Regions from separate parts of the Homo sapiens genome. Here regions 1, 3, 4, 5, 6 and 7 are each linked to region 2. Evidence: promoter capture Hi-C in 16 types of primary human blood cells and fetal thymus (Javierre and others, 2016). All regions are on one chromosome and are shown on one strand. The core of a region is centred on a gene start or on the middle of the fragment in contact, and the rest is flanking DNA. Distances in the headings are between cores, read along the strand shown. Region 1 has its middle 23 kb from the start of EXO1. Region 2 holds the start of WDR64 (WD repeat domain 64). Region 3 has its middle 44 kb from the start of EXO1. Region 4 overlaps EXO1 (exonuclease 1). Region 5 has its middle 28 kb from the start of FH. Region 6 overlaps WDR64 (WD repeat domain 64). Region 7 has its middle 5.6 kb from the start of EXO1.

Region 1 (3,090 bases), core at 267-2,766, 170 kb before region 2:
ATTGCATTTGAGATTTCTGGAAATTGATTAGACTAAAACTGACTCTGGGGAAAATAAAAATACTATAAATAAAAAAAGAGGCCAGGTGCAGTGGCTCACGCTTGTAATCCCAGCACTTTGGGAGGCCGAGATGGGCAGATCACCTGAGGTCAGGAGTTCAAAACCACCCTAGCCACCGTGGTGAAACCCCGTCTCTACTGAAAATACTAAATTTAGCCAGGCGCAGCGGTGGGTGCCTGTAACCCCAGCTACTCAGGAGGCTGAGGCAGGAGAATCACTTGAATCCAGAGGCGGAGTTTTCAGTGAGCCGAGATCGCATCACTGCACTCCAACCTGGATGACAGAGCAAGACTCCATCTCAAAAGAAAAAAAAAAAAAACACAAATGCTCAGTGATATGGTTTGGCTGTCCCTTCTGAATCTTATGTTGAAATGTGATCCCCAGTGTTGGAGGTGGGACTTCAGTGTTTGGGTCACGGAGGCAGATCCTTCATGAGTGGCTTGGTGGCATCCCCATGGTAATGAGTGGGTTCTTGCTCTGGTAGTTCACCTGAGACCTGATTGTTTAAAAGAGCCCAGAACCTCCCTCCCTCGCTTGCTCTCTCAGCATTTAATATGCCTGCTCTCCCTTCACCTTCCACCATGATTGGAAGCTTCCGGAGGCCCACTAGAAGCAGATGCTGGCACCCTTCTTCCTATATAGTCTTCAAAACTGTGAGCCAAAATAAACCTCTCTTCTTTATAAATCACCTAGTCTCAGGTATTCCTTTATAACAAAGAAAATGGACTAACACACTCAGTCTTACTAGTCATTTAGGAAACTGGAATTAATGCCAGATAACATTTTGAACAAGTTTTAAAAGGGAAGTGGTGTAGTCAGAATGCTTTCTATTTAAAAGCAGCTTAATTTGATATGAAATTTAAATGTGGTATATAACTCTCTGAATATATATCATAATGCACATAATTCAGAGTTTAGATTTTTAAATACCAAAATAATGGCACTACATCAAGAAAAATACCAAAAGAATACTTGGTTCTTTAAAAATAGCATCATATTCTGGAATACCAGAATACCACAAGACTACATTTCAATCATTTGTTAAGTCAAGGTTGCAAAGACTAACAGGCAGATTAGCAGTGTGAAACACCAAGCTGGCAACTGGAGGAAACCCAGGAGATGGGACTAAGTTGCCCAGGATAGTGAAAAGGGCCTGGGTTTGGAGTCAGAAGACCTGGGTTTGAAGTTCTGAGTTTCACTTTCTTTTACTCACTATGGCCATTGGATTTTGGCCAGGTTCTTCCAATCTCATGTGGCCTTATTTTCTTCAATACAATGAGCATAGTAGTATTGCTCTGCTTATCCCCCAGGGCTGTTGTAAGATAATATAAATAAAATATTGCTAATAAAAGCTATAAAGAGGAGATCCTAGGGTCTAAGGATAGAATTATCCTTTATTTAAACATGTTAATGTTGGAAAAGAAACATCATTTGATTTTGCTCTCAAACACTGCATAAAGGATGCTCTGCTACCACATCGCTCTTTCTTGAATATTCCCTTACTTCTATTTAGATATAAATTGAGAGAAAATTTTGAGCTACAGAATGAGAAGTGTCCTCCTTCACTAACCGTGCTAACTGGTATGTTTCATGAATATCATTTTCAATTTCTAGCCATTGTCATCTCCATTTAGAAGGAAGTGTTCTGAATTTTTTCTAAAAAAATAGCTTTTTTTTTTTTTTTTTTTTTGAGACAGTCTTGCTCTTGTCACCCAGGCTGGAGTGCAATGGCACGATCTTGGCTTACTGCAACCTCCGCCTCCCATGTTCAAGCAATTCTCCTGCCTCAGCCTCCCATGTAGCTGGGATTACAGGCGCCTGCCACCATGCCTGGCTAAAAAATAGCTTTTTATACCAGTGTTTGAAGTTAAAGGTCTAGTTTTGTTTAATATATACACTGTGGGTTCTCCTTCCATTATTTCGAAGCAAACCTCATACATCATCTCAATGCAACCTTTGAATGTGATGTTTGATTTGAATTGTCATGGATTCCTGGGTATCTGTTGGCTTTATACCCTGTGGCTGATCCTAGGTCCTTACCCCTCTCCCACATCCCCACCTCCTGTCCCTTCCCTTCATCTTGAAGTTTCACTGGGCATAGAAGCCTTGTGTGGTTTGTTTGCTTGGAAAGGGAGGTGGGCTATTTTCTAGCTGTCACCCTGCCTCATTCTTGTTTGGTCCTGCCTTGTTTTGCCCTCTCCCTCCATCTTTGAGCTGTGGCTCCAGGAGTGCCTCTACCCCTTGCTGGTATTTATCTTCCCTGAGCTGGATTCTCACCCTCTTGAAGGGACAGTGGCTTGGACTTGACCTTCTAAGCTTTCCTGACTTTTGCTTCTTCAGGCCGGTCACAACCTAGTTCCAGCCCCTCAAATCCCAGCTCCTGGTGCCACTGGTTTACTGTCGCCTCAGTAAAGAGGAGAAAAGTACATGTGAATATGTGACTGCTTTCTCCCGCGCTGGGCCATCACTTCTCTTTCACTGGCTTCTTGACGTGTCCTCTGATGGCGTGCTTCCGGGCAGACTCACTCAGTCCAAAACTTCATGTCGAAGTCATAGTTTGAGCCAGGAAAAAGGCAGGAAGTATCCTTTTCTATCTGTGTTAAATGCTGCCATCCTTTCATTTAGCCTTTGCTCTCAGTTTTCTACAGTACTTTTAGGTCAGCAGCTCTTCCTCTTGACTTGCTTTTCAGAATCCATGCAGCCTCCTTTACCCAGCAACTGTAAGGAGGAACTGAGGGAGCATGACTCCCTGGGGCTAGGGTGGGAGACAATTTGAGTGACACTGGGTGTGTAGCATTAAAAAATGTCTCTCACAGATCCGCTGGCCTCTCCATTCCTGGAATGCCCTAGACCCTCTTTCACCTGGGTGAGTGGCTTCCTGATACACTATACAGTGTTAAGGGGAGGAAGGACTGTTATTTCCCAACTGTCCTGGAAGGGCTGTTTTGCCTTTAGAACCAGCCATTAGCCCCAAGACATCCAATCCTTGTCTTATTTTTGAGGCTAGGCCAATAAGCAAACAAAAGGGCC
Region 2 (3,220 bases), core at 605-3,104:
TCAGTGATTCAGAAGTGGAAAAGGGGGGTTTGAGAGAATTCTTGTCTTTTGACCTTGCTTTCTTTTATGACGTAGAAAACTTGGCTGAGAGAAGCAGACATCCCATAGAGAATTCAGAAAAAGTGTCAAGGGTTTGAAAAACCAATTAGAGAGAGGTAAAACAAACTGACTAGGAAAAAATGCAAGTTTTGTTGAGTAGTTTAGAAGGCCCAGTCAAGTTCCCAATCACCGAAAAAGCATATCCAAAAGGTCCAAGTCTTAGCTTTAACACTTAGAAGTTGGGTGACTTTGGCCGGGCACGGTGGCTCACACCTGTAATCCCAGCACTTTGGGAGGCCATGGCAGGTGGATCACCTGAGGTCAAGAGTTCAAGACCAGCCTGGCCAACATGGTGAAACCCCGTCTCTACTAAAAATACAAAAAATTAGCCGGGTGTGGTGGTGGGTGCCTGTAATCCCAGCTACTTGGGAGGCTGAGGCAGGAGAATCACTTGAACCTGGGAGGCAGAGGTTGCAGAGAGCCGAGATCGCACCATTTCACTCCAGCCTGGGCAATAGGAATGAAACTCCGTCTCAGAAAAAAAAAAAAAAAGAAAAGAAAAGAAAAGAATTTGGGTAACTTGGGCAAATGATTTATCTTCAGCTCCCATTTTTTCCACAAATAAAATGAACATAATGACATTGATTAACATGACTATAAATTATTAAATACTATTCAATTAATACCAGCTTGGGTTTGAACACCCAAAGTCAAGATTTTCACTTACAAATTACTATGCAGCCTGGCACACTCAGAGGCTGGCTATACTATCCCTTTAGCAATTATATGGGCTCTGCTCCTTTCATTGCAACAGCAGGGTTTGTTCTGTTAGTCTTTCACTCTGCCATGTAGCTTTATTTTTCACAGCTGTCCTCAATACGCCAAAGCTGTACACTACACCACTCCCCTTGAATCTTGTCTATGCACTGGCATCTCTGCTGCAAATCCTCCTGTAAGACCACTGTCCACCATATTCTCCTTAGCTTGCATCCTCAAGATCATTCCTGCCTAGAGATATGGAGAGTGGCCAAGACAATGGAATCATGGTGAGGCAGGAAGCTGCACTTCTTATGAAAGTCTTTATGGTCTCATGATATCTTTAGGCTAAGAAAAAGCAGTGCTATACATTACTGAGCATCCCAGGTCAACCAGTGAGCCATCAAATGGCAGCGTCTACAGAAGAACACTGGACGTCATTTAATCCAATCCCATAGTTTTACAATTGAAGCAACTTCGGTTCAGAGAAGTAAAAAAAAAAAACAAAAACAAAAACAAAACAAAACAAAAGCTTCCTCATGTCCGCTTTGTTATTTAGGGACAGAGAAAGAACAAGAACTGAGGTCTTCATCCCCTTTCAGCACCCATTCTTTCACATTAAGCTCTGATGCTTCTCTCTGATGGCTTAAAACATTTTCCAGTTCTAACCAACAGACCCAATTGGACTATCGTGTAATCACTGATCTTACCTTCTTTATGGATAAATAAGCCTGCTCTTTCATCTCTTTTCTGGGCTGCTGTTTGTTCAACCAATTTTTCAAACCTGTTCAAAGCCTTTTTGAAATTGCTCATCTGAAGTGCCATGTTGAGACGCTTTTCCTTCCTGATATCCATAGGGACATAGGGGATCTTTTACTTCTGTACAGAAAGAATACTGCAAGTTTACCAATTTGGAAAACTTTCCAGTTGTTACAGTGCCTCCCTGCTGTCTCAGTTTTTGCCCTAGGTCTAATTCCTTTGATCTTAAAATCCCATAGTGCGGGTAGGAGTAAGAGTTGCCACTAGGATGTTAGCAGGGAGGAAAGCTGATTTAGGTCTGATGCATTTCATACAGACAAACATTTCAGTAAAAATCCTGACCTCACAATGTCATCAGTGTCCTTCATAGGGTCCTCATTGCATCATAATATCTCTGTAACATCCTACTTCCTTCATAAGGAGGAGATTGAGATATTTTTTTCCCCACAGACTGTGTGTGTGTGTGCGCGTGCACATGTGTGTGTTGTGTATACTGCTTGAGAGGGAAAAGGAATGAGTAAATAACAAGTAAGAAAACTGGGTAATACTTTCTCCCTCGTGTATCTCTTCTCACCTCAAACCTTTTGCCTTCCTCACAATACCGCGGAAAGTAAAGTTTGGCCAGGCACGGCGGCTCATTCTTGTAATCCCAGCACTTTGGGAGGCCGAGGTGGGTGGACCACCTGAGGTCAGGAGTTCAAGACCAGCCTGGCCAACATGGTGAAACCCCCGTCTCTACTAAAAATACAAAAATTAGCTGGATGTGGTGGCGGGCACCTGTGATCTCAGCTACTCAGGAGGCTGAGGCAAGAGAATCACTTGAACCTGGGAGTCAGAGGTTACAGTGAGTTGAGATCACACCACTGCACTCCAACCTGGGTGACAGAGTGAGACTTCCTCTCAAAAAAAAAAAAAAGTAATATTCACACTTATTCTTGCCACTGTACTGGATATGGAAATTCGAACTTCTAAAGATGAAATGTATTTCAGCACCTGTCATTTCTACCACAAACATTTTTAGAGGTCATAGGGAATACAAATGCTCTTCTTCCTTTGTGCATTGTCCTTCGATTGAAATAATAAAGTGAGCCAAGGATAAGGAAGGAGTGGCTTCTGATTATGAGGACAGCTTTTCAAGGTAAGAGGTCAGATGAATTAGAAGAGGCCTTTCTGCACATCTCCTTCCCAGTCATTGCAATCTCCAATCCGACTTAGTCCAAATGCTATTGACTCCGGTTTTCCAATTTTCAACTTTTTATGGGAAGGAGAAGTTGTTTAATGTTTCTCAACAATTAGTTAACTTCCTATGGCTTAGGTGAGTTAGATAAATTTCCTACCCCTTGGTAGTCCATCTTTTAAAACATTCTTCAAGAACTTGCATTCAGAGATGAAGCAGATGGCATTTCAGAGCACCTCCAATTCCAGTACTGTCTTCTTGGTGTCCACCTCTAACTATCTGTTAGGAGAGCGCAGTAAGATTTTATTTAAAGAAAAATCCCCCAACCCCATTTGTTTCTCCTCCTTTTTCCTTTAAAGCTTTCAAACCACTGTACAGTGATGTCTGGAGAACCACTCTTCCTACAATTCTAATGCATTCACCATTAATTCATCTAGGAAATATTTACTGAATACACACTTCATGCTAGAGGCTGTTTTAGACACTAAG
Region 3 (3,171 bases), core at 334-2,833, 150 kb before region 2:
CCAACTGTATATCTTCCTTGATGAGATGTCTGTTAAAGTCTTTGGCTCATTTTAAAATTGAGTTGTTTGTGTTCTTACTGTTGGGTTTTTTGTTTGTTTGTTTGCTTTGAAACAGAGTCACACTCTGTCATCCAGGCTGGAGTGCAGTGGTGCGATCTCAGCTCACTGCCACTGTAATTTTCACCTCCTACGTTCAAGTGATTCTCCTGCCTCAGCCTCCCAAGTAGCTGGGACTACAGGGACGCTCCACCATGCCCCGCTAATTTTTGTATTTTTAGTAGAGACGGGGTTTCACCATGTTGGCCAGGCTGGATTCGAATGCCTGACCTCAGGCAATCTGCCCAGCTTGGCCTCCCAAAGTGCTGAGATTACAGGTGTGAGCCACCACGCCTGGCCTACTGTCGAATTTTATTATTTATGTTTATTTATTTTGAGGCAGAGTCTTGCTCGGTTGCCCAGGCTGGAGTGTAGCGGTGCAATCTTGGCTCACTGTCACTGCAACCTCTGTCTTCCAGGTTCAAGCAGTTCTCCTGCCTCAGCCTCCCGAGTAGCTGGGACTACAGGCATGTGTCACCATGACTGATAATTTTTGTATTTTTAGTAGAGATGGGGTCACCATGTTGGCCAGGCTGGTCTGGAACTTCTGGCCTTAAGTGATCCACCCATCTTGGCCTCCTAAAGTGCTGGGATTACAGGCCTGAGCCACCATGCCTGGCACTGTAGAGTTTTAATAGTTCTTCTTATATATTAGATAACAGTTCTTTATCAGATGTGTCTTTTGCAAACATTTTCTCCCAGTCTTTGTCTTGTCTTTTCATTCTCTTGACAGTGTCTCTTACAGAGCAGATAATTTTAATCTTAATGAAGTGCAGTTTACAAAGCCAGGCATGGTGGCTTATGCCTATAATCTTAGCATTTTGGAAGGCTGAGGTGGACGGATTGCCTGAGCTCAGGAGTTTGAGACCAGCCTGGGCAACATGGCGAAACCCTGTCTCTACTAAAATGCAAACAAGTAGCAGGGTGTGGTGGCATGTGCCTGTAGTCCCAGCTACTTAGGAGGCTGAGGCACGAGAATTGCTTGAACCTAGGAAGTGGAGGTTGCAGTGAGCAGAGATTGTGCAATTGCACTCCAGCCAGGCGACACAGCAAGACTCTGTCTCCAAAAAAAAAAAAAAAAAAAAAGAGAGAGAGAGGCTCTATTTATGAGGTGAACTTTATCAATTCCTTATTTCATAGATTGTGTCTTTGGTGTTGTATCTAAAACATCATTACCAAATTGAAGGAAATTTAAAATTTCTCCTATGTTACCTTCTAGGAGTTTTACAGTTTTACATCATACATTTAGGCTTATAATCCATTTTGAGCTAATTTTTGGGAAGGATGTAAGGTTGCTTCTGAATTCATTTTTTGCACGTGGATGTCCAGTTGTTCCAGCAGCATGTGTGGAAGTGTATCTTTTTCTCCATTGTGTTATCTTTGCTCCTTTGTCAAAGATCAGTTGACTGTATTTATGTGGGTCTGGTGCTGGGCTCTCTATTCTGTCCCATTGATCTATTTCTTATGTCTGTTGCCAGTACCACACTGTCTTGATCACGATAGCTTTATACTAAGTCTTGATATCAGTCCCCCAACTTTATTCTTCTTCTTCAACATTGTGTTTGCTATTCTGTGTCTTTTGCTTCTCCATATTAGCTTTAGAATCAGTTCCTCAATATCCCCAAAGTAATTTTCTGGGGTTTTGGTTGGGATTGCATTGAATTTTTAGATCAAGTTGGGAAAAACTGACATCTTGATGATATTGAATCTTCTTACCCATGAACATGGAATATTTCTCCTTTATTTAGTTACTTGATTTCTTTCATCAGAGTTTTGGGGTTTTCCTCATATAGTTCTTCTACATATTTTGTTAGGTTTTTGCCTAAGTATTGTGTTTTTAATTTCAATTCCACGTGTTCATTGCTGGTAAATAGGGAAGCAATTGACTTTTGTGTATTAATCTTGCATTCAACAACCTTGGGTATAATTGATTATTAATCCCAGGAGGGTATTTTTTGTTTTTGGTTGAATCTTTCATCTAATATGGTTCTGATTAGCATTACCTTGATTACTATTAAGAAAGTTGAGCATTTTTTAATATATGTATTGACTATTTGCATAACCTCTTCTCTGAAGTGTTAGTTCATGGTTTTTTTTTTTTTTTTTTGCCTATCCTACTGGATTGCCTTGATTTTTCTTATTGATTTGTTGGAGTTCTTTATATATTTTAGATATAAGTCCTTTCTTAGTTACAGGTAATGAAAATCTCTGCCATTCTACAGCTTGCCTTTTTTCTTTCTTAATAGTCTCTCTTTGGTAAACAGGAATTTTAAACTGTAATATAATTCAATTTACCTATCTTTTCTTTTGTACTCAGTGCTTCAAGAGATCTTGTAGCTTCTGTTTTTGCCTTCTTGAAACCATCAGATCATTATGTGAAGAATTGTGGTCTCGCCTCTTTGTGTTTTTGTTTTGTTTTGTTTTGTGTTTGAGACAGGATTTCGCTCCCTCACTCAGGCTGGTGTGCAGCGGTGCGATCTCAGCTCACTGCAGCCTTGACACCCCAGGCCCAAGTGATCTTTCCACCTCAGCATCTCCAGTAGCTGGAACTACAGGCCTGTGCCACCACACCCAGCTAATTTGTGTATTTACTGTAGAGACAGAGTTTTGCTATGTTGCCTAGGCTGGTCTCAAACTTCTGCGCTCAAGTGATCCTTCCACCTCAGCCTCCCCAAGTTCTGGAATTACAGACTGTAATCTGGCCCCTTGGCTCTTTGGAGATGAGAGATCACACAGAAAGAGAAGTCCAGCCAGTAGTCAGCATCAAACACAAGGAGGCCGTCTTAGACCATTTAGACACTCACTGCAGTTGTGTGAGTGGCACCAGGTGAGACCAGAAGAAATGCCCCGGTGGAGCCAGCCCACATTGCTGACCCACAGAGTCATGAGCAAATACATGATTGCTGTTGCGAGCCACTCAATTTTTTTTCATTGTTTGTTATGCAGCAATAGATGACTAGTATAGAAAGAACTTACATCTTTACAATATTGAATCCTCAAAGCCATGAACATAAATATACCTTTGCATTTATACAGAGTTCCTCAAAGTTTTCTCTAAAATGTTATATTGATTTC
Region 4 (3,257 bases), core at 538-3,037, 230 kb before region 2:
TTACTTTTTGAGATGGACTCTCACTCTGTCGCCCAGTCTGGAGTGCAGTGGTGCGATCTCGGCTCACTGCAAGCTCCACCTCCCGGGTTGACGCCATTCTCCTGCCTCAGCCTCCCGAGTAGCTGGGACTACAGGCACCCGCCACCACGCCTCGCTAATTTTTTATATTTTTAGTAGAGACGGCGTTTCACCGTTTTAGCCAGGATGGTCTCGATCTCCTGACCTTGTGATCTGCTCGCCTCAGCCTCCCAAAGCGCTGGGATTACAGGCATGAGCCACCACACACGGCCAAACTATTCTTTATACATAAGAACAAAATAACCCATGAGCAATGGTAAAAATGTGCTATTTATAAAAGTCTATTACAGAAGTCATCATAAATTATTTTAACAGGTAATATGTAAACCTGGCATAAAATTTAAAAGTTCTCTCTTTTGTAAAGGAACAGAGAGCAAAATGAATGTCTCTCGCTGCCTCCCTTTCCAGAGGCAATTGCTGCTCCCAGCTTCCTATGCATCCACTGACTTACGTGCACGTGCACACACACACACACACACACACACACACAGGCAGCATAGTACACATTGTTGTGCACTTCATTTTTCTCACTTAATATATCTTGATTCCTCTTAATGATGTAACTTAGAGATTTTTTTCAGTTCACAGGAAATAGAATTTTATTTTGAATAGGTTGCCTGTTCTTGCATTGTATATATATGCCATAACTTACTTAAACAAACCTCTATTGACATTTAGGCTGTTTCTACTAAGGGTTGATTTTTACCCTGTGGACAGAATGGAGACAATGAAGTTTTGTTATTGTTTCTTAAGATAGTAAGAATGAGGTATATTAAAAAAGGTTTACAATATGAATCTGGCAGTGTGTGTAGGAAGAATGAAAAAGTTAAAACAAAATAAAGGTTCACACAGTAAAGATGAAATCCTTAAATATGTGTTGTGATGGGGAAAAAGTGAGGGAGAAAAAAGAAGGCAAAGAAATAAACGTTAGAATTTGGAGAGGTATCGATGTTTGGTTGTTTTTCTCTAACTGCTGTAGAAGGATCAAACTGACAGTTATCAAGAAAAAGGACAACCTTAGGATTTTGAAACTAAGTGGCAGATAATATAATTTTATTTAATAGATAAAACAAAAAACGTTCCGAGAAGAAATAGAGGTAAAAGACACGAGTTTGATTTTAGGTATTAAAGATGGGTATCAGGGAGAGCTCACCTGAAGGGTCACCAAAACAGAAGTGGTAGTTAAATCCCTGACAATGCAAATGTCTGAGAATAATAATAATAATATGATGGTTTACTATCTAGACATAACTCCTTCAGGAAAAGTACTTTCTACATCTCCAGTTCTATCCATCATTGTAAATAATTCTGCATGTATCTTTCCAGACTTCTTAATAGGATGCCACAAACATGCAAATGTGTACATGAATATTTTAAAGTATTTAAACAAAAACACTATACATATTGTTAATAACATATTTTTCCTTTTCACTAATAATGAATGTCTTTTCAAGTTAGTAGATATGATTGCAAAAAACTTCTTGCTCAAAAATTTAAAAAATAATCTCATATTTACATATTTCATATTTGTATCTTTAATGTACTGGAATTTGCTGTGGACTGAATGTTGTGTCTCCCTCACATTCATATTGAAGTCCTAACCCCTTAACTCCTAATGTGATGGTGGGATTTTTGAGAGGTGATTAGATCATGAGAGTAGAGCCCTCATGAATGAGATTAGTGCCCTTAAGAAGAGGTACAAAAGAGATATTCTCTCCCTCTACCATGTAAGGACACAGCGAGAAGGCATCTGTCTGCAAACCAGGAAGTGGGCTCTCACTCAGACCTTGGACTTCCCAGCCTCTAGAACTGTGAGAAATAAATATTTATCATTTAAGCAAATCCAGTTTCTGGTATTCTGTTATAGCAACCCATATTGACTACAGTAGAATTTACATTTATATTGTGTGAGACTACATCTTCTTTCAAATGGATAGCCAGGGCCATTTATTAAAATTTTAAAAAGTAAGAAGTTTTTATGCTACTAGAAACATAATATATGCTCATGGTAGAAAAACACAAGAAAAAGAACAGAAAAAAATTCACCTATATTTCTACCAGTAAGAGCTAAAACCAATGATTATTTAATAACTCACTCCCTTATTGTTATTTAGGTTATTTCCAATTTTTCACTATTATAACCAATGCAGTATTAAGTATTCTTGTATTTAAATTCTCAATGTTTCCTTAGGCTAAAGTTCTAGAATGCACTTACTGGTTTAAATTATTTGAACTCTTTCAAATTTTTTTCTAGAAATGGCAGACCAATACTTACTTTTTAAAACATGTGATTATCTCACTATACTCTCATAAAAAATGAGTATAATTAAAAACATTTTTTTGAAATATGAAGAGGCAAGAAACTATTTTATTATTTTAATTTGCACTACTTGATTACTAATGAGGTTAAACATACGGTTAAACAAATGAGGTTAAACACATATTAATCAACCATTGGTACTTTTCCTTTTGTGACCTGTTTATGACCTTTATCCATCTTTTAAGTTAGGAAATGGTGTTTTTATACTGATGAACAAGAACATTTAATATATAAAATATGCTTTAATTCGTGCTTAATATATAAAATATGCTTTACTATGTAGTAACACAAATATTTATATATTTTGATTCAACAAACCTAGTTTATCATGGGTACACAGTTTCTAGAAGGCCTTTTGGCAGTATGTATCAATGTTAAATCATACATGCCTTGGGACCAGTAATACCACTCCATGCAATTCATCCTTACAAACTAATCAAGAACATGTCCTCAAATATTTATCCACAAGATCTTGGTTGCAGTATTATTTGCTAGAGCAAAAAAATTTAGGGTAAATGACAAAAATAAGGGGATTGACCAAACCTATACAACTGCATATTATAAAGTCATTACATTAATGACTAAAAGTACTTGGAAAGTGATCTTTCATATACACTGCAAGAGAAAATAAGTTTCACAACTTAAACACCTACAGTCAAGCATAAAGTTTTAAAGTAGACATTTTTATATAAATGAGACTACAGGTATTTTGATTTTTAATTCTGCTTGTATTTCTCATTTTCTAGTTGTAAGCATACACCGCTTCTGAAATTAAAAAAAAAATTAAATAAATGTTTTACCTTGTTCCTTAGAGGTGTGTCTTTTTTTGAGAAATGAGATAAACGTAGCTTGGAGGTCT
Region 5 (3,041 bases), core at 288-2,787, 160 kb after region 2:
GCCTGCCCCAGTTAGCTTTCTAATTCCCTGGAGACAGTGGGCAAAATTGCTAAATGCTAAATTGATTTTAAGAGGGTGAAACAGGTAAAATGGGATTAGGCCATTTTTTTTTTCTTCAAGAAGAGACTATATAATTCTTCAAGAATTATATTACTTAACGATATAATTTATCATCCAACCTTGAAGCCTTTGAAGAATAAAAAAGAATAAAATAATTCAAGTTGTATAATTTTTGAAACTTACTGACCAAAAAATTGGTTTTATCACATTAGTGGTGCTCTAAATAGTGCTACTCAAAAGCTAATTTCAAAAATAATTATCTCCAGGTTGAGGTGGGAGGGTTGCTTGAGCCCAGGAGTTGGAGGCTGCAGTGAGCTATGATCATGTCACTGCACTCCAACCTGGGTGACAGAGGGAGACCTTGTCTCTAACAACAAAAAACACCAGTTTTCTCTCCAGTAGGGTCTTAATATTTTCACTTCTTCCATAAAACTGCCTACAATCTTCTTTAAGTTGCCTTTATGGTTAATAAATGTAAAATGTTGATATTTTCAGTGAACTCCTCTGTAGACTACAATATTTTTAATTGGGCAATTAGTCTCTCTACAGTTGCTGATGTACCGGAAAACCTCAGAGAAAATTCTACTAAATGAAAGATACTTTCAATACCATTTTTTGTACTGAAATGTATTAATAACTTAATATTTTCTTTTTGCTTCCACTCAGACTAACTTAATTTGATGACTAAAAAAAAAAAAAAAAAAAAAACCCAGAACTTGTTAAATAAAGTGTTCCTATTTACGGTTAATTTGCCATATTGAAATGCTGCAAAATTGTAAGGCTTCTCAAGTGATTCTATTCCAATAGAGAATACAAATTTGCACAACATTGTAAGTCAGAATTTCATCAAATAATTTTTCTCAAATGTGGAGATTTTTCAAGTTAAATCTCATGCATGATTTGACCTCTCACCATTTACTTTGTTCGGTTCTTGTTTTTGTTGAGACAGATTTCAATGTCTTCCTGTTGGCAAGCTTTTTCTCAATCATTGCAATTGAAATTTAAGAGACAAAAAACCCTGAAATTTTGGTGCTACACTTGTTAAATACCTAGATTAAAGATTTCCAACTGTATTAGTTTCCTGTGGCTACCATACACATCACCACAAATTTGATGGCTTAAAACAACAGAAATTTATTATCTCACAGTCCCGGAGGCCAAAAGGCTGAAATCAGTTGCACAGGGCTGGTGCTTGCGGCAGTCCTTCACCCATGGGTATATCACTCCAGTCTCTGATCTCATGGTCACATTGCCTCCTCCTCTTCTGCTTGTGTCAGATTTTCCTCTGTCTCCCTTATAAGAACAAGGACACATGTGATGGCATTTAGGGTCCACTAGGATAATATAGGACAATTGCCCAGTCTCAAGATCCTTAATCACATCTGTGAAGCCCTTTTTGGCCATATAAAGTAACGTTCACAATTTTTAGGAGTTACGACTTATATATCTTTGACAGCCATTATTTGGTCTGATACACTAAATATTAAACAAATTACTGCTGGGCACAGTGGCTCACGTCTGTAATCCTAGCACTTTGGAAGGCCGAGGCGGGTGGATTGCCTGAGTTCAGGAGTTCGAGACCAGCCTGGGCAACATGGTGAAACCCCATCTCTACTAAAATACAAAAAATTACTTGGGCAAGGTGGTGTGCACCTGTAGTCAGCTACTTGGGAGGCTGAGACACAAGAATTGCTTGAACCCAGGAGGCAGAAGTTGCAGTGAGCCGAGATTGCACCACTGTACTCCAGTCTGGGCAACAGAGCGAGACTCTGTCTCAAAAAAAAAAAAAAAAAAAAAAAAAACCCACAAAACGAAAGTTTAGAAGATACATTCACAAAACGAAAGTTTAGAAGATACATTCACGAAACTATTCCACTGTAGGATGCTTAAGATGATTTATGAAGTAATTCTAAAAGCTGGAGGAAATGTGTGTACCACCAACCTATTTTGTTTTTGACATCAGCTTTATCACAAAGCTTTTTGATTCAGTTACTCTAAAATTGTATATAAAAATAGTGATACACGTTGACAAAGACAGTCTCTATTTCAATTGGGAAAATATCACAGCTTGTTTGAATTGTGTTTGGACCACAACCAGTTCCAAATACACTTTTGTTCCACCGGCTTCTTAATTTAGTAAAAACATTGCTTTTACAACAACTGTGTGCTCCACCAAAATAAGTCTCTGTATTACTTCTATATCAAATTACTTTATCTTCAGTATCTTCAGTGTTGAAGTTTTTAATAGAACTTAACAATAACATGCACGATATTGTTTCACCTTCAACACCTCAACAAAAATAACTTCCAGATATTACTGGAAATAATTGACTTTCTATTTGAAACGTGATGACTGATATAAAGATGGCATTATTTAACTCTTCTACTGATGAGTAAAACATGAATTAGACCATGAACAGGACATGTATTTATAGTCTAAAAGCTGACATAAAAAGCCAGAGCCTCGCCTTGTTTGACCCTGGCTGGGAATGTGCACATCAAATGGCCCACATTTTTTGCCACTCTGTGCATGTTCACAAATGACTGCAAAAGCACCAGAAGTACTGATTTTGGGGTAACATTTTTGTGAGTAAGTGAATTAGCAAATATGGAATCTGCGAATTTTGATGATTGATTGTATTACTGAGCTCTTTTCGAAGAAACAGGTATAAATTGATGGTGCTACTAGCAATTGTATGAGGATTCTTTTTCAGCCAACAATTATCATTGTCATTTCAAAAAATTGCTGAACTAAAATTTTAAGTACCTTATGGTTTTATTTGAATTTCTTTGATTAATATCATAGTGACAAATTATTTACATATTTATCAGTCATTTGTTTTTCTATAAATTTCCTGTTCCTTAACTTTATTTTTCTCTTAGGATGTTAGTGTTTTTATATGCATTTGAATGAATTTCGTATGTATGAAGTTCATAGACCCTATGACATATTTCATGTAAATATTTTTTTCCCAGTTTTC
Region 6 (3,043 bases), core at 159-2,658, 130 kb before region 2:
GGCCTCCCAAACTGCTGGGATTATAGGCATGAGCCACCATGTCCGGCCAACATTTTTTTTTTTTTTTTTTGAGGAGTCTCGCTCTGTCGCCCAGGCTGTAGTGCAGTGGTGCCATCTCGGCTCACTGCAAGCTCCGCCTCCTGGGTTCATGCCATTCTCCTGCCTCAGCCTCCCGAGTAGCTGGGACTACAGGCGTCCACCACCATGCCCAGCTACTTTTTTTTTTTTTTTTGTATTTTTAGTAGAGATGGGGTTTCACCGTGTTAGCCAGGATGGTCTCAATCTCCTGACCTCGTGATCCACCCGCCTCGGGCTCCCAAAGTGCTGGGATTACAGGTGTGAGCCACCGTGCCTGGCCTCCAGCCAACATTTTTATCAGTTAGACTGTAGTCTGCAAACTTTTTGGGAAATATTAGTTTGAATCTGTACTTATGACACCCATTTGTCAAAGCCAGAAAACAAATGGGCAGTGTTATTTCAGGATAATAAAACTGCATTTGGTTGCTAAGGGTAATGGCCTCTAGCTCCATCCATGTCCCTGCAAGAGACATGATCTTGTTCTTTTTTATGGCTGCTTAGTATTCCATGTTGTGTGTATACCACATTTGCTTTCTTTCTATTTTCTTTTGGGAAAATAACACTGCCCGTTCAAGCTAATCAGAACACTTGTTAACTAACAGTGTATTCATTGAATTAGGCCTTAGAATGGGCTGTATCTCAGCTGGCTACTTTTCAAATCAGCATCAACCAAACTTAAGGGAGGAGGGATCTCATGCTGCTTTTACTATTATCAAATTCTCCTCAACCTCCATCCACAGCTGCTACTATTGTGCAAATACCCTGCTAATTTTTACAACTGAGTTCTGAAAGAGGATGGCAAGAGAAGGGACTCGTTATCCATATGCCTTGTTTCACTATCACTTCACTCCAAGAGGTCCCTCTAAATAGCCCATGTGGTTTAAAGTAATACAGAGTATTATTAGCAGGAGTGTGTGCCCTAGGCCATATGGGAACATAAAATAGTATTTGGAAGATCTTCCTTTTATTTATTGATTTCAACCTCAGAGTGGCAAATGATGGCAATCATCATCATGAGCCCTGCAGCAATGACCTAAAAGGAGGAGGGCAAGCAAGCTAAAGAAACTAAGAGTAGATTCTGCAAAGTCTGAATAGCCTCCCACCTCAGAGAGGTAGATGTTGAGAAGGAGGCAGAAACAGAGGTATCTATTTGGGACTTCTCCCACTTGACAGTGTCCTGGGGAATTAACATGAGCATCTTCTATCCCTTCCATGTATTAATTCTCCAGCATTATAAAAATGTCATGGCCTGGCCAGAACCTTTACCAAAGAGAAATAGACCAGCCCTTTAATAGTAAAATTTAGAAGGGTGAGGGGCTAACTTCGGAACAATTCTAAATTTATTCTGCTTTAGGCAGGACTGAAGAGACTGTAGTCTCCTTGTTTCCTGCTATGCATGGAGCTCTCCCAAATAACTAATCCTGCTTCCCAGCTTGATTTCCTGGGCCTCAGATACAGAACCTTAGCTACCTTGAGCCCCACTTTGCCTCCCTGAACTTCTGTCTACAGACTGATCACCTGTCCTGCATCCCAGAGTTCAGCCTCAATTATGTTTGTTTCATATTTAAAAATCTCATCTTTTTGACAAGCAAGATTTAGAACGTTGAAACTGCCTAACTCTTTAGAGAGTGGCAGTGAGTATTAGCAAAGGGACATGGCTTGGTTATGAAGACAGTTGTGTTCTGAGGTAGCTATTAATAGATGTAAGCACTTTGAACTGAGTATCTAGGGAGATTTTCACTGTAAGAAATCATAAAATTAATTTCTCCATGCCAAGGATAACTGGAGTGAGCAGTGCTATGGCGTGAATGTTTTTGTCCACCTGCCAAATTCATATGTTGAAACTTAATCCCCGAAGTGGTGATATTGATGTGAAATGGGACATGCTTAGGTCACAAGGGCTCAGTCTTCATGAATGGAATTAGTGTCTTTTAAAAAGAGGCCCGAGGGAGCTTGTTTGCCTCTTTCACCATGTAAGGACACAGCTAGAGGGCATCATTTATGAAGCAGAGAGCAAGACCTCAGTAGACGCTGAATCTGCCAGCGCCTTGATCTTGCACATCCCAGACTTCAGAACAGTGAGCAATAAATTTCTGTTGTTTATAAATTACCCAGTCTAAGGTATTTTGTTACAGCTGCCTGAACAGACCAAGACAAGCAAGGAATACCTTACAACAACAGTGGCATGTACATATGTGGTTGTGCCATGTGTGTGCGTCTGTGTGTGTGTTACAAACTCAAATGAACACTTCTGCTCATAGGTAGCTGAAAATAAGCTGGAGCAGAGACCAAGGGACTGAGTTGTTAAAAACATCTATAATAATGACATTTAATGTTCTTACTCTTTCCTGCAAATAAAACAGCAGATGTCCTTTCTTTTTTTTTTTTTTTTTTTTTTTCAGACAGAGTCTCACTCTGTCGCCCAGGCTGGAGTGCAGTGGCGTGATCTCGGCTCACTACAATCTCCGCCTCCCAGGTTCAAGTGATTCTTTTGCCTCAGCCTCCCAAGTAGCTGGGATTACAGGCTCATGCCACCACGCCCGGCTAATTTTTGTATTCGCAGTAGAGACAGGGTTTCACCATGTTGGTTAGGCTGGTCTCCAACTCCTGACCTCGTGATCCACCCGCCTCGGCCTCCCAAAGTGCTGGGATTACAGGCGTGAGCCACCACACCCAGCCCAGATGTCCTTTCTTACAGAGGAAGTAACTCTGACCTTTTGCCTCCAAATAGGACCTTACTCCCAAAGATTCATCTTGAATTCAACGTTCTAAAGCTCTTTATCCTTCCACATTCTAAACATTTTCCTCTTTTAGAGCCCTGTATCTTAATGAGTGGTTCTAACATTCACCTAGTTGCATAAACCAGGTGTCATTCTTGACATTTATCACTTACCTCCCCTTTGAGTTAAAGTTCACGTCTTCTTGATTTTGCCTTCTGGATAGCTATCATCAAATCTAAACCACT
Region 7 (3,011 bases), core at 26-2,525, 190 kb before region 2:
TGACTTCAACTCCCACTCTTCTTGCTCTTGCCCACTCTACTTTAGCCATCTAGCCTCCGTGCCATTCTTTGAATATGCCAGGTACACTCCCACCTCTAGGGCTTTGCATACGCTGTTCCTTCTTCCCAGAATGCTCTTCCAACAGATAGCCCCGTAGCTTGGTCCTTTACTTCGCTCAGTAATACACATAGGTTTCTTCTCAGTGAGATATTCTCCAATTATGCTATTTAAAATTGCAATTCCTAGCCCTACTTTGGGATACCTAATTTTCCTTTCCCTGATTTATTTTTCTCCATGATACATACAATTGGACAAATTACATATTCTAGTTATCTATTTGTTAATTGAGCATCTCTCACCTCACTATAATGAAAGCTCTATAAGAGCAGGGATTTTTACCTATCTCCTATAACATTGTCTGGCACATAGTAAACTCCAGTAAACTTCTGGTTGAATAGACAAATGAATATTGAAATTAGCTAACAGCCTGGATCTAAAAGAGACACTGATGTTTTTAGAACTTAGATGTTTGGGCAATATAGCTGTTTTCAAAGCTGTTTTACAGTGAAATTAAACAACTCCAAAGTTATCAGGATGAGTATTATTTGAATAATCTAGGACAGAGAATGCAGAAAGAGTAAATGCTGTCCTCATTCCCTACTGCAGAGGGAAAACGATTTTAAATAGCCTCTGTTTTTGTCCTTCACCAAAAAAAAAAAAAACTATGAAATGCATTTTTGCAGAATGACACTTCTAAAAAATATTATCTCTGGCTCCAAAATATACATTTTAGGGAAACTGGCATAGGTCTTTGGCAAAGCTTTCTTGGAGGTGATTGATATATTAGCATCGACAGTACCTATCTATCTAAATAATAAGTGTTACTATTAGAGTCTTGAATTATAATACTTAGGGAACAATTAGTATTTTTCAGGTTAGTTGTATATATTTACATCCTTAATTTGTTTACCACTCCTAACGATGCTATGAGGATGGCACATTTGTTATCCCCATTTTACAAGTGCGACAGCTGAAGTACAAAGGGATTTGAACCCTGTGTAGTTTGGCTGTGGAATCTGCTTTTAACTTACCTTTGGATAGCTAGCATATGTATTTATCTGTGGAGAGATAGATATTATGTTAACATTTTCAGAGTTACCAATTGACTAAATCCCCTTTGGATGATTTGGGAAAAAGAAAGAAAAGGAACAACTTTTTTTATAATCTACCATGTTTTGCATGTGCTACCTCATGTAATCCTCGTAATAGCTCTGGAAGATAACTATTGCTACCCTCATTTACAGAAGAAAAAAGCGGAAGCAGAGAGAAGCAGGTAATAGTGTCATAGACCTAAAGCTGTTATGTGATGTGATTCAAGCTAGTATCTGTCTGACTCCAAATGGCTATATTCTTCACTATGACACATAGTGGGAAGAATGTACCCAGTGAATAGCAAAGATCCAGAGAGGAGGAGGAATACATAGTTCCAGCTGGTAGCAGGCTGTCATGGAGTTGTGGAATCAAAAAGACAATAGGCACAATCCTGAGAATGTTTGGATCCAAAGATACATTTTTCTGACCTTGGCCTTCAAAGCTACTCCCAGGTGAGCTCAAGGTGAATGAGTGGGAGAGGGCCTCTGCAATCACAGCCAGGCTAACTCTTCATTCTTGTATGAGATCTTTAATAAGTCATACATCCTGGGCCCAGTGGTTCAGACTGAGGAAGCTTCTCTTCTTACCGTTGGAGCAGCACTTGCTTCTCTCATGATTTTCAGTGTTACCACGACTTTCTCATGGCCCAAGTGAATTTGCTTATCTCCATGCTTCAACTTTTTGCTTATCTCCATGCTTCAACTTTTTGCTTTTGTTTTTTTAAAAAAATTAAAAATACAAAAAGTTCAGAGAATGCTACCCACTTTCTTGGTGAACTTGGGACTTAGTCATAGGAGTGAAATGGATATTGCTCTTTTGACTTTAATGACAAAGTGTGACTTGCAATGGGATATCAGAATAATAGTTCCAAAGTGGTAAGCTGCTGAAGGACACCCACTCACTAGGTAGCAAAAAGGGACATTTCTATTGAAAACTCAGTGAAATATAACCTGGAACAATGAAATAGACATCAATACATCAACACAGTGAGAATTACAGCCAGCAACAGAATGCTTAGTGAGGAGAAATACAAGATGGAGAGGCTCAGCTAAACAAAGGCGTCACATTGATTATAAAGCTAAGAGTGGTCCTTGTATGGTAAGTGCCAGATTCCGCATGAAGCAGCTGGTCTCAGAATAAAAGAGTAATGAATTTCTGTCCACTTATTGGTCTTTCAGCCTCCAGGGGACTTACTCAGCCAGCAGTTCTATTTTCAGAAGCAGAGGATAAACACATGCTTTAATTCCGTCATTTAAAATCTAATAAGTATTTTTAACAAACATCTGTGGCCAGTTTTTCCATTGGTCTTTTGTATATCTATATATACATCTATCAGTATATCTCCATAGATAGCTTCCATTATCCCTTTTATACCAGCTCAGTTAAGAGCTTAATGTCTAGCCTACCTTGCTTGAATTCAAATCTGGGCTGTGTAATGTATTAGCTGTTAATTTGCTGACTTTAGAAAAAGTTCCCCATCTCTTTATTTGATTGGGGTGACCGCGGAGCATAATGTAACCTCTGAAATGACTTAAACCAAGACTGCACTAGTCTAAGTGAGCCATTGCACATTGACCCAATAATTTGATCAACAGAATAAAATGAAAATAAATAAATAATTTTCCATTTTCCTTATTTGAAAACTGGGAGGAACAATAGAGCTAATTGAACTGCTTCATAAGATCGTGAAGATTACATGAGATAATCCATTTAAATTGTATAGAGTCTAGTGTCTGGACTGCGACACTCAACAGTGAAGTGAGAAAAAGCCCCCAAAACGTAGTCATGGACACGATGTATAGTTTGTCAAGAGCTTTCACATGCATTTCCATTTGGTCTTCAGAAGACGAGGCCTGGAT

The links. The method cuts DNA at HindIII sites, captures the fragments that hold promoters and counts their contacts. A CHiCAGO score of 5 or more calls a contact.
Region 1: a fragment that was not itself captured here is called in contact with the fragment with the promoter of WDR64 in region 2 in 13 of 17 cell types (naive CD8 T cells, M2 macrophages, total CD8 T cells and 10 more); the score reaches 13.0 in naive CD8 T cells.
Region 3: a contact is called between a fragment that was not itself captured here and the fragment with the promoter of WDR64 in region 2, in 13 of 17 cell types (activated CD4 T cells, M2 macrophages, naive CD8 T cells and 10 more). The highest score is 13.0, in activated CD4 T cells.
Region 4: a fragment that was not itself captured here is called in contact with the fragment with the promoter of WDR64 in region 2 in 5 of 17 cell types (fetal thymus, monocytes, total CD4 T cells and 2 more); the score reaches 8.9 in fetal thymus.
Region 5: a fragment that was not itself captured here is called in contact with the fragment with the promoter of WDR64 in region 2 in 1 of 17 cell types (monocytes); the score reaches 5.0 in monocytes.
Region 6: a fragment that was not itself captured here is called in contact with the fragment with the promoter of WDR64 in region 2 in 10 of 17 cell types (naive CD8 T cells, naive CD4 T cells, total CD8 T cells and 7 more); the score reaches 10.3 in naive CD8 T cells.
Region 7: a contact is called between a fragment that was not itself captured here and the fragment with the promoter of WDR64 in region 2, in 16 of 17 cell types (fetal thymus, activated CD4 T cells, non-activated CD4 T cells and 13 more). The highest score is 22.9, in fetal thymus.

What each region holds. Positions count from the first base shown.
Region 1 is chr1:241,823,913-241,827,002 of GRCh38, reverse strand. No RefSeq gene overlaps it. Among named protein-coding and RNA genes, the nearest start is that of EXO1, 23 kb to the left of the region's middle. The HindIII fragment of the contact is 1,724 bases long and covers 655-2,378 here.
Region 2 is chr1:241,650,915-241,654,134 of GRCh38, reverse strand. It overlaps WDR64 (WD repeat domain 64), which reads right to left and starts at 1,854. Exons shown (of 28, transcript NM_001367482.1): 1 at 1,506-1,854. The coding sequence starts at 1,650. The HindIII fragment of the contact is 1,763 bases long and covers 1,330-3,092 here.
Region 3 is chr1:241,802,836-241,806,006 of GRCh38, reverse strand. No RefSeq gene overlaps it. Among named protein-coding and RNA genes, the nearest start is that of EXO1, 44 kb to the left of the region's middle. The HindIII fragment of the contact is 8,352 bases long and covers 1-3,171 here.
Region 4 is chr1:241,881,959-241,885,215 of GRCh38, reverse strand. It overlaps EXO1 (exonuclease 1), which reads right to left. Exons shown (of 16, transcript NM_130398.4): 14 at 3,199-3,257. Among named protein-coding and RNA genes, the nearest start is that of EXO1, 35 kb to the right of the region's middle. The HindIII fragment of the contact is 8,246 bases long and covers 1-3,257 here.
Region 5 is chr1:241,490,587-241,493,627 of GRCh38, reverse strand. No RefSeq gene overlaps it. Among named protein-coding and RNA genes, the nearest start is that of FH, 28 kb to the left of the region's middle. The HindIII fragment of the contact is 1,002 bases long and covers 1,037-2,038 here.
Region 6 is chr1:241,784,388-241,787,430 of GRCh38, reverse strand. The region is part of intron 23 of WDR64 (WD repeat domain 64); the gene reads right to left. Among named protein-coding and RNA genes, the nearest start is that of EXO1, 62 kb to the left of the region's middle. The HindIII fragment of the contact is 5,686 bases long and covers 1-3,043 here.
Region 7 is chr1:241,841,140-241,844,150 of GRCh38, reverse strand. No RefSeq gene overlaps it. Among named protein-coding and RNA genes, the nearest start is that of EXO1, 5.6 kb to the left of the region's middle. The HindIII fragment of the contact is 906 bases long and covers 823-1,728 here.